Regions from separate parts of the Homo sapiens genome. Here regions 2 and 3 are each linked to region 1. The links are contacts of gene promoters, found by promoter capture Hi-C in blood cells and fetal thymus (Javierre and others, 2016). All regions are on one chromosome and are shown on one strand. The core of a region is centred on a gene start or on the middle of the fragment in contact, and the rest is flanking DNA. Distances in the headings are between cores, read along the strand shown.

Region 1 (2,848 bases), core at 4-2,503:
GGTCACTCAATCCCCAGCTACCCTCCTCAGTCACATCTGGCCCATCCTCCAGACACAGCTGATGTCCCTCCCATGCCTTCCTCCTCTGGGAAGCCTCTGTGACTCAACCACCTGTACTTCTTTTTCCCCGTTTCCCCCCTGGAGGAGAGAAGCAGCACCGGTATGTGTTAAGGAAGAACAAACAGACCAGCCAGACGATCAGGGTTCAAACCCCAGCTCTGCCACTTGCTGCTGAGTGGGCAAGTCCCTTCTCCCCTTTTTCCTAAGGGTGTGAGCTCATTGCATCCCTTGCCGAAGCTGCAAACCCATCCACTCTTTCTAGGATGTTCTCACAACCCCACTTTCCCCCCTGCCCTCTGGAAAGGTGGATCAAGTGGAGAAACAGTAAGCTACCTGCGAGGCTCTGCTGAAGCAACAGGCCACTAAGCTTTTATGCCTGGCGATGGAGGCCGATGAAAGAGGCCGGATCTGAACCCGGGGGCCCGCATGGCCCGTGAGCCGGGCAGGGAGGAGGGTGGCCCCGGCCCGTCTTGAACTGTTTGGAGGCATCTCAGGCCTTGCCCACCTCTGGGAGGCAGCCCAGCCTCGGGGTCTGCCCTGCAGATTCCATCGGCTCAAACCATGATTCCTCTCATTAACAGCAAGTTACTGAGCCTCCCTGTCCCTCAGCTGCTCTAGCGTAAGCAGGGGCTGTGGCTCTGAAACGCGCGGATGCGAGGCGTGTAGAAAAACGCCCGGGACGTCACATGCCGAGCAGCAACCGCCAGCCGCGATCGCCAGCATCGCCGTGCACCGGGGCCCAGCACGGGGCTGAGGGCAGGGGCGGCCCGTGCGCACCGGCTCCAGCCCCCCGCGGCTCCCGGAGGAAGTTTGTGGCCCCCGCGCGGCGCTCTCGCCCGCGCCCCACGTTCCCGGAGTCCCCGCCGCTCCACTCGACTCCGCAGCCGCTTCCCGACTGCAGTCTCAACCCGGTCTCGGGGGGCGGCGGCGCGCGCCGGGGGTCTCCGCGCGCCCGCGGGCAGCCCGGGTCCCGGCCGAGGGGGGCAGCGGGCCGGGGCGGCGCGGGGGCGGGCCTGGCGGGCGGCGCAGAGGGCCGCGTGGGGCCGAACCATGCACTCACCTCCGCGCGATCCGGTAGAGCAACACGCCGGCCGCGGCGCACGCCGTGACCCCCAGGCCGCCGGCCAGGCCGGCCGTGGGGCAGCGGGCCAGCAGCGCGCTCACTCCCTCCATGGCTCTCCGCGTGGAAGGACGGCAGGCCGGCAGGGGGGTAGGCGGGTAGGCGGGTAGGCGGGTAGGCGGGCAGGCGGGCAGGCGGGCAGGCGGGCAGGAGGCGGTGACGCCGGGGGCGCGGGCCGCAGGCGGGACGCGGGGCGGCGACGCGCGCCTCCTCGCGCCGTGACCTTCGCCGCTTTGTAGCGGGCGCGGGCCCGCCCCCTGACTCGGCGCGCTCCCGTCGCGCAGCCAATCGGGACGAGGGGTGAGCCCGGGTGGGCGGGGCGGCGGCGGAAGCGACAGAGCCGGCCGGGGAGCGCCCCCGCGCGGCCGGAGGTGGAAGGCGGCGCGGGGAGGGCGGGGCACGGAGCCCTGTAGGAAAGCCCCGCCTTCTGCCTCCCGCGCCAGCCGCCAGGCCCGGAGGTCTGGCTGCAGACAGTCCACCGAGCTTCTGCTAAGGGGAGCATCTCCAGAGTACGCAACTGCTTGTAATTAGTCTTTTTCCCCCTCGCTAATCCTGTCTAGTCAAACCCAGCCTATGCGCCCAGTGCTGTTTAGCAGCTCCTTGAGCCGCTCTAATGGTTGAAAAACTAGCTTTTTAGAAACACGATCATCCACGGATAGGGACATGGTTGAATAAATCATAGGACAGCCATAGTTCGGAACATAATGCAACCATTAGAAAGAATGCCAGATCCAGGCAGGGCGCGGTGGCTCACGCCTGTAATCCCAGCACTTTGAGAGGCCGAGGCGGGCGGATCACGAGGTCAGGAGATCGAGACCATCCTGGCTAACACGGTGAAACCCCCTCTCTACTAAAAATACAAAAAATTAGCCGGGCGTGGTGGCGGGCGCCTGTAGTCCCAGCTACTCGGGAGGCTGAGGCAGGAGAATGGCGTGAACCCGGGAGGCGAAGCTTGCAGTGAGCCGAGATCGCGCCACTGCACTCCAGCCTGGGCGACAAAAGCGAGACTCCTTCTCAAAAAAGAAAGGAAAGGCAAGGAAAGAGAGAGAGAGAGAAAGAAGGAAGGAAGGAAGAAAGGAAAGAAGGAAGGAAAGAAGGAAAGAAAGAAAGGAAGAAAAGAAAAGAAAGCCAGATCTGGAGTTATTGGCATAGATGGATGATACATTGTTTTTAAAAAGCAACATGCAGGCAGGGCGCGGTGGCTCACACCTGTAATTCCAGCACTTTGGGAGGCCGAGGCGGGCGGATCACCTGAGGTCAGAAGTTCAAGACCAGCCTGGGCAACATGGTGAAACCCCATCTCTACTGAAAATACAAAAATTAGCCGGGCGTGGTGGTGCACACCTGTAATCCCAGCTACTCGGGAAGCTGAGGCACAAGAATCGCTTGAACCTGGGAGGCGGAGGTTGCAACGAGTCAAGATTGTGCCGCTGCATTCCAGCCTGGTGACAGGAGACTCCTTCTGAAAAAACAAAAACGACAACAAAAAAGCAACATGCAGGCCGGGCACATGGTGGCTCACGCCTGTAATTCCAGCATTTTGGGAGGCCGAGGCAGGCGGATCACAAGGTCAGGAGCTGGAGACCATCCTGACCAACATGGTGAAACCTGGTCTCCACTAAAAATACAAAAATTAGCTGGGTGTGGTGGTGGGCGCCTGTAGTCCCA
Region 2 (3,165 bases), core at 322-2,821, 300 kb after region 1:
GCTGAGGCAGGCAGATCACTTAAGCCCAGGAGTTCAAGAGCAGCCCGGGCAACAGAGCAAGACACAGACTCTGCACAAAAATTAAATAATAATAATAATAATTGGCCGGGCATGATGGCTCACACCTGTAATCCCAGCGCTTTGGGAGGCTGAGGCAGGTGGATCACCTGAGGTCAGAAGTTCAGGACCAGGCTGGGCTTGGTGGCTCACACCTGTAATCCCAGCACTTTGGGAGGTCGAGGCGGGCGGATCACGAGGTCAGGAGATGGAGACCATCCTGGCTAACACGATGAAACCCGTCACTACTACAAATATAAAAAATTAGCCAGGCGTGGTGGCGGGCATCTGTAAGTCCCAGCTACTTGGGAGGCTGAGGCAGGAGAATGGTGTGAACCCGGGAGGCAGAGATTGCAGTGAGCCGAGATTGCGCCACTGCACTCCAGCCCAGGTGACAGAGCGAGACTCCGTCTCACAAAAAAAAAAAAAAAAAAAAAAAAAGAAGTTCAGGACCAGCCTGGCCAACATGGCAACACTCCATCTCTACTGAAAATGCAAAAATTAGCTGGGTGTGGTGGTACGTGCCTGCGATCCCAGCTACTCGGGAGGCTGAGGCAGGAGAATCTCTTGAACCCAGGAGGCAGAGGTTGCAGTGAGCCGACATCGCACCACTGCACTCCAGCCTGGGCAACAGAGCGAGACTCCATCTCAAAAAAAAAGAAAAAAAAGGTAATAATAATTTTAAAAGAGCATATGACCCCCTCCAGCCACTCTGCAGTTTGAGAACTGTTGTTTACTTGGGAGACTGGTGAGAGCCTCTGGGACAGGCCCATGGGGTGCAGCCCACGTCAGTCATTGCTGAAAATCACAGCTGCCTCTGATGGGTTCATTTCTCCTTGGGAGAGTAGCCCTGTTTGGTGGATTATTCACTGTGTGTGTGGCATCTACCAGACACTGGCATCTCATGGGGCTGGTGCTACGGCCACGTGGCCTGGGGCCATGGTGTTGTCAGCTTTGCTAAGAGGAACTCCACCAAGCCTCACCTCTTAACATCTGGGAAGCTTCCAGGGCAGACTGGGGCACTTTGGAGCTAGAGACCCAGCTTTGATGTTTAAGGCCCTGAAAGACAGTTCCTGATGAAAAGTCTTCAGCACCCCCACCCCACCCCCCTTCGGCGTTAATCTGGAAATCTCAGCTCTTGATCCAGTTGAATAATTAGACCCTGCTGACCTAAATTTCCCAGAAGAACCCCTGGGGAGTGGGCCTTCTCTCCTCCAGGACGCTGGGCAGGTTGGCCGGATGATGGAAGGCTGGTCAGCCGGCAGTGACTGCTGCAGCATGGGGCAATGTTGAGCAATCCTGGAAGCCAGTTTATGTGTCAGAAGGGCTCAGAATCACCCTAGCATGCTGATACTATTGTTTGTTAAAAAAAGATACATAATCTTGCAACATTGTGACATAAGCTGATAGATACTATCCAAAAATTTGAAGGGTGACTCAGGACTTATACAAAGATCTGTGTACTGCAGGGGTGAGTCGGGAGGGAGGTGGCTCTGGGCTCCCAGTGGTGTCATCCCCAACCCCCTCCCCAACTCCACCCCACCCCCACACACATTTTATCACTTGCATCAGCACAATTTGCTCATGTCTTTAATCTGTCTCCGGGAAATGGTGAAGAGAAACTTGATAGATGGTGAATTAGCATCAGCTGCTTTTTCTGATGATGGTTCTGAGCCTTGAGCTCTTAGCACAGAATCCTGCTGCCCTCACAAGTGTTAAAGGCTGCCATCTTCTCTGAATCCCTTTTGCTGATTGGAGCAAATGTGCAAAGGATTTGGTAATAGACAAACCCAATGCAACCCCCAGCTCTGCTATTCATCAGCTGTGTGACCTTGAGCAAGTTACTTAACCTTTCTGAGATTTCCTGTTCTCATCTGTAGAACTGCTCTACACATTTCCCCAGAAACTGGGGAGGTGGTGCAATCATTCAACCAACATTAACTGAACACAATTAATTGTGCTAGAATGAAATCAAGGATTTTGAGAATTTTCAAGATAATAGGTTTTTTTTTTAAAGAAAAGCTTGGTATCCACAACACAGAATTGTAGCAAGATCCACCAGAACATGAAGAACACTGAAGCATATTAATAAAATCTACATCTATTATGCATCCTTAGCATAAGATGTGTACTTATCTCATGATGCAAAACAGAAGTAGAGTGTTTATATGTTAATTAAAAAAAAAAAATAGAGGCAGGGTCTTACCATGTTGCCCAGGCTGGTCTTGAACTTCTGGGCTCAAGTGATCTTCTTGCCGTGGCCTCCCGAAGTACTGGGATTATAGGCATGAGCCATCACAGCTGACTTCTCGCAGAATTTTGATCTCATAATATTCCCTAATTTAGTACATTGATTCATTTTGTAGATCATTTGGTCATAAATTACTGTAGTGCTCACACTGGATCACATCTTGTCAGACAGCGACGCCTGCTGGCAAAGCATGATATTGCACTATAGCTCTATCAGACTTTGTTAATCACGAATAAAGGAAAAGACTAAGAGCAAAGTTTTGGGGAGATTTAAATGAGACATTAGATGATAAACAGGCTTGGAAAGAGTTCCTATGACTTTGAGAAAAAAATAATAAAGAGATGATATTGGGTTTGGGACAATAACTATTGCAAAGTTCTTCAAAAACACAGTGAAGTAACAGCAGACTGTGATATTGGTGCCTATCTTAAATCTTCACCAGTTGCTTTTAACAGTATTTCAGTTTATTTCTATCCATGGGACATCTTGAATATACATTATAATATAATTAATTAATTTTAATAGTATTAATGTAGTAAAACTCCATTAAACAATCAAAGTGAAACCCCCTCCAAGTATTTATTATTTGGCCCTTCAGTATTTATTTTTATTAAAAATTTAGGAACCTAATGAATAAATATGGAACAGTGCTGTTCTGCATGCTGGAGAGTGATAAACAACATGGACCAGGCTCTGGGCCTTAGAGAATTTCCATTTCAGTGGGAGAGACCAATAGTAAACAATAAATGAGATCATTCCAGATGGTAACAGTGTTAACAAATAATCATTTTATATAAGTTTGCTCTGTGATCTTTTTTTTTAAACTTAGAGAGGGAGAAAGACCTGTATTCAGTGGC
Region 3 (2,830 bases), core at 37-2,536, 450 kb before region 1:
AGCTTTGGAAATGTCTCATGAGAACTGCTTACCTAACCTCAAAAATTTTTAATTGAATTAAAAAGAAAAACTTCAAAGATATTTTTCCCAAAATAACTATTTGTCTGGCTCCCACTTTGGGAGGCTGAAGTGGGAGGATCGCTTGAGGTCAGGAGTTTGAGACCATCCTGGGAAACATGGCAAGACCCCCGTCTCTACAAAAAAAAAAAAGATTTTTTAAATTAAAAACAAACGAATATTATTTGTTCTAGGTTCTGCTGAGAGTAAAATTAACAGTTATTGAACCAGCCCTTTGTGTTCTGGACAACTAATTTGTTGAAGATAATTTTACATTGATCCTGTATTAGTGAATTTAATTTTTTTCATTTATTTTAATATTCTGTTGACCTTGAAAAAAGTTTATTCTATTTCTTCCACAAAGGTTACATGTGTTCCTCATATGGTCACAAAAAAAAGTTACACCTTCCTCAAGGACTGATGAAAGTGAAGAGACACATTTTAGATTATACAATATCTTCACTGGTCTGTAATGCCTCACTGGTTTGAAAAGAATTTTTTGGTGAAAACTCAAGTATGCAAAAGCCTCTAAACCAAGGACTATTAACAGATCATCAAAAAAAAAAAAAAAAAGTAATTTATAGGAGTAAAGGACTACTAAAAAACTACCTCGGCCGGGCGCGGTGGCTCACACCTGTAATCCCAGCACTTTGGAAGGCCGAGGCGGGCGGATCACGAGGTCAGGAGATTGAGACCATCCTGGGCTAACACGGTGAAACCCCGTCTCTACTAAAAACACAAAAAATTAGCCGGGCGTGGTGGCGGGCGCCTGTAGTCCCAGCTACTCGGGAGGCTGAGGCAGGAGAATGGCGTGAACCCGGGAAGCGGAGCTTTGCAGTGAGCTGAGATCGCGCCACTGCACTCTAGCCTGGGCAACAGAGCGAGGCTCCGTCTCAAAAAAAATAAAATAAAATAAATAAAAAATAAAAAAAAATAAAAAAACTATCTCTGGCCGGTCACGGTGGCTCACGCCTGTAATCCCAGCACTTTGGGAGGCCGAGGCGGGCAGATCACAAGGTCAGGAAATCGAGACCATCCTGGCTAACACAGTGAAACCCCGTCTCTACTAAAAACACAAAAAAATACAAAAAACTAGCCGGGAGTGGTGGCGGGCGCTTGTAGTCCCAGCTACTCCGGAGTCTGAGGCAGGAGAATGGCGTGAACCCGGGAGGCAGAGCTTGCAGTGAGCTGAGATAGCGCCACTGCACTCCAGCCTGGGCGACAGAGCGAGACTCCGCCTCAAAAAAAAAAAAAAAAAAAAAAAAACAGTATCTCTGCCTTAAGAGAAATTACTCACTAGAATTAACATTAATGAAAAACGGGGGAGGTAGAGAAACTTTTAAAAAACCACATAAAACAGGCCAGGCGCGGTGGCTCACGCCTGTAATCCCAGCACTTTGGGAGGCTGAGGCGGGTGCATCACGAGGTCAAGAGATGGAGACCATCCTGGCCAACATGGTGAAACCCCATCTCTACTAAAAATACAAAAAATAGCCGGGCGTGGTAGCGGGCGCCTGTAGTCCCAGCTACTCAGGGGGCTGAGGCAGGAGAATGGTGTGAACCCGGGAGGCGGAGCTTGCAGTGAGACGAGATCGCGCCACTGCACTGCAGCCTGGGCGACAGAGCAAGACTCCGTCTCAAAAAAACAAACAAACAAAAAAAAACCCACATAAAATAAAGCGATTCTAAGGAGATTTCCTACCGAATGAAAGAAACTGTGTAATATTCTCTTCACTTAAGATTACATTTCTGCTGTATTCGAAAAAAACAAAGTAACGCCGAATGGGCAGTCCTGATTTTCCAAACCAAGTATCCAAGTATCACAATCAACAAAATCATTTGCTTCCTTTCCTACCTGACCCTTAACACACCACTGCGTGTCCTATCCCAGGAGAATTTCAGTCCCTAAGTAAACACACTAAGTACTCTGTAGCTAAAACTGGAGCATGGAAGTCTTGTAGTACAATCAACTTGATGGATGACTGCTTTCCTAATACTGTAGGGAAGTTTACATGATGAACCAGTGAAGAAATGTGGAGGTAGGCTAAAGAGGGTATGGCCAGTAGGGGTCCTGAAAGGGAAGCTCCTAATTTGCAAAAAGGAAGAGAAAAGGCAGTAGAATCATAGGAAATTCCTTGTACCCTAATTGCCACTGCTTTTTGGTTGTTTTTTTTTTTACAACAACCTAATTTATTAAACAATCTTTAAAACATCAAGAAGTAGATCTGTATAACTCCTTTAAGAAATGAGAACAGGAGAGAGTTTAGAAAGTCATTTGCTTCCACTTGCTTCCCGTTCAGTCTCTGCTACAGCAAAACACAAGTTTGAAAGATTCAAGAAGTAGGAAAAGATAGAATGTAACAGAAGAATGCCAGAAGTCATTAGTGGTCTATTAAGTACCAGAATATAACTGGAATTCTCTAAACTGTGGAGAAGATACATATTTTGTTAAATATCAAAGAATCTGTCTGTAAACCACCCCTCAAGCAAAAATATATGTTTAATCAAGCTTATACAGTGCAATAACCACACATATCTGGAATTTCAAATGCTTTCTTTAAAAATATTCACCCACCATACATTCTCATTCCATCCAAAATTGTTCTTTAAATTCCTGAAGACACAGACACACACACACTTTAACTTCATGTAAATCTCGCCCTTCTTGTTCGCATACCCTGAAGAAAAGAATAAACACCTCAAGATGCTCTCTCCTCTTGTTCATACCCTAAAAGAACACTCGGAAAGAAGCAAATGGAGTTCAGAATGAAGA

What was found. Contacts are between HindIII fragments. The CHiCAGO score rates a contact against its expected background, and 5 or more counts as called.
Region 2: a fragment that was not itself captured here is called in contact with the fragment with the promoter of TMEM201 in region 1 in 3 of 17 cell types (fetal thymus, endothelial precursors and M0 macrophages); the score reaches 7.1 in fetal thymus.
Region 3: a contact is called between a fragment that was not itself captured here and the fragment with the promoter of TMEM201 in region 1, in 2 of 17 cell types (naive CD4 T cells and total B cells). The highest score is 5.9, in naive CD4 T cells.

Annotation. Positions count from the first base shown.
Region 1 is chr1:9,587,316-9,590,163 of GRCh38, reverse strand. TMEM201 (transmembrane protein 201) reads right to left here and starts at 1,253. Exons shown (of 11, transcript NM_001130924.3): 1 at 1,121-1,253. The coding sequence starts at 1,233. RefSeq lists silencers at 808-877, 1,038-1,237, 1,248-1,657. The HindIII fragment of the contact is 1,704 bases long and covers 430-2,133 here.
Region 2 is chr1:9,288,510-9,291,674 of GRCh38, reverse strand. No RefSeq gene overlaps it. Among named protein-coding and RNA genes, the nearest start is that of SPSB1, 2.8 kb to the left of the region's middle. The HindIII fragment of the contact is 1,021 bases long and covers 1,061-2,081 here.
Region 3 is chr1:10,033,883-10,036,712 of GRCh38, reverse strand. All of the region lies in intron 1 of UBE4B (ubiquitination factor E4B), which reads right to left. Among named protein-coding and RNA genes, the nearest start is that of UBE4B, 2.3 kb to the right of the region's middle. The HindIII fragment of the contact is 2,564 bases long and covers 5-2,568 here.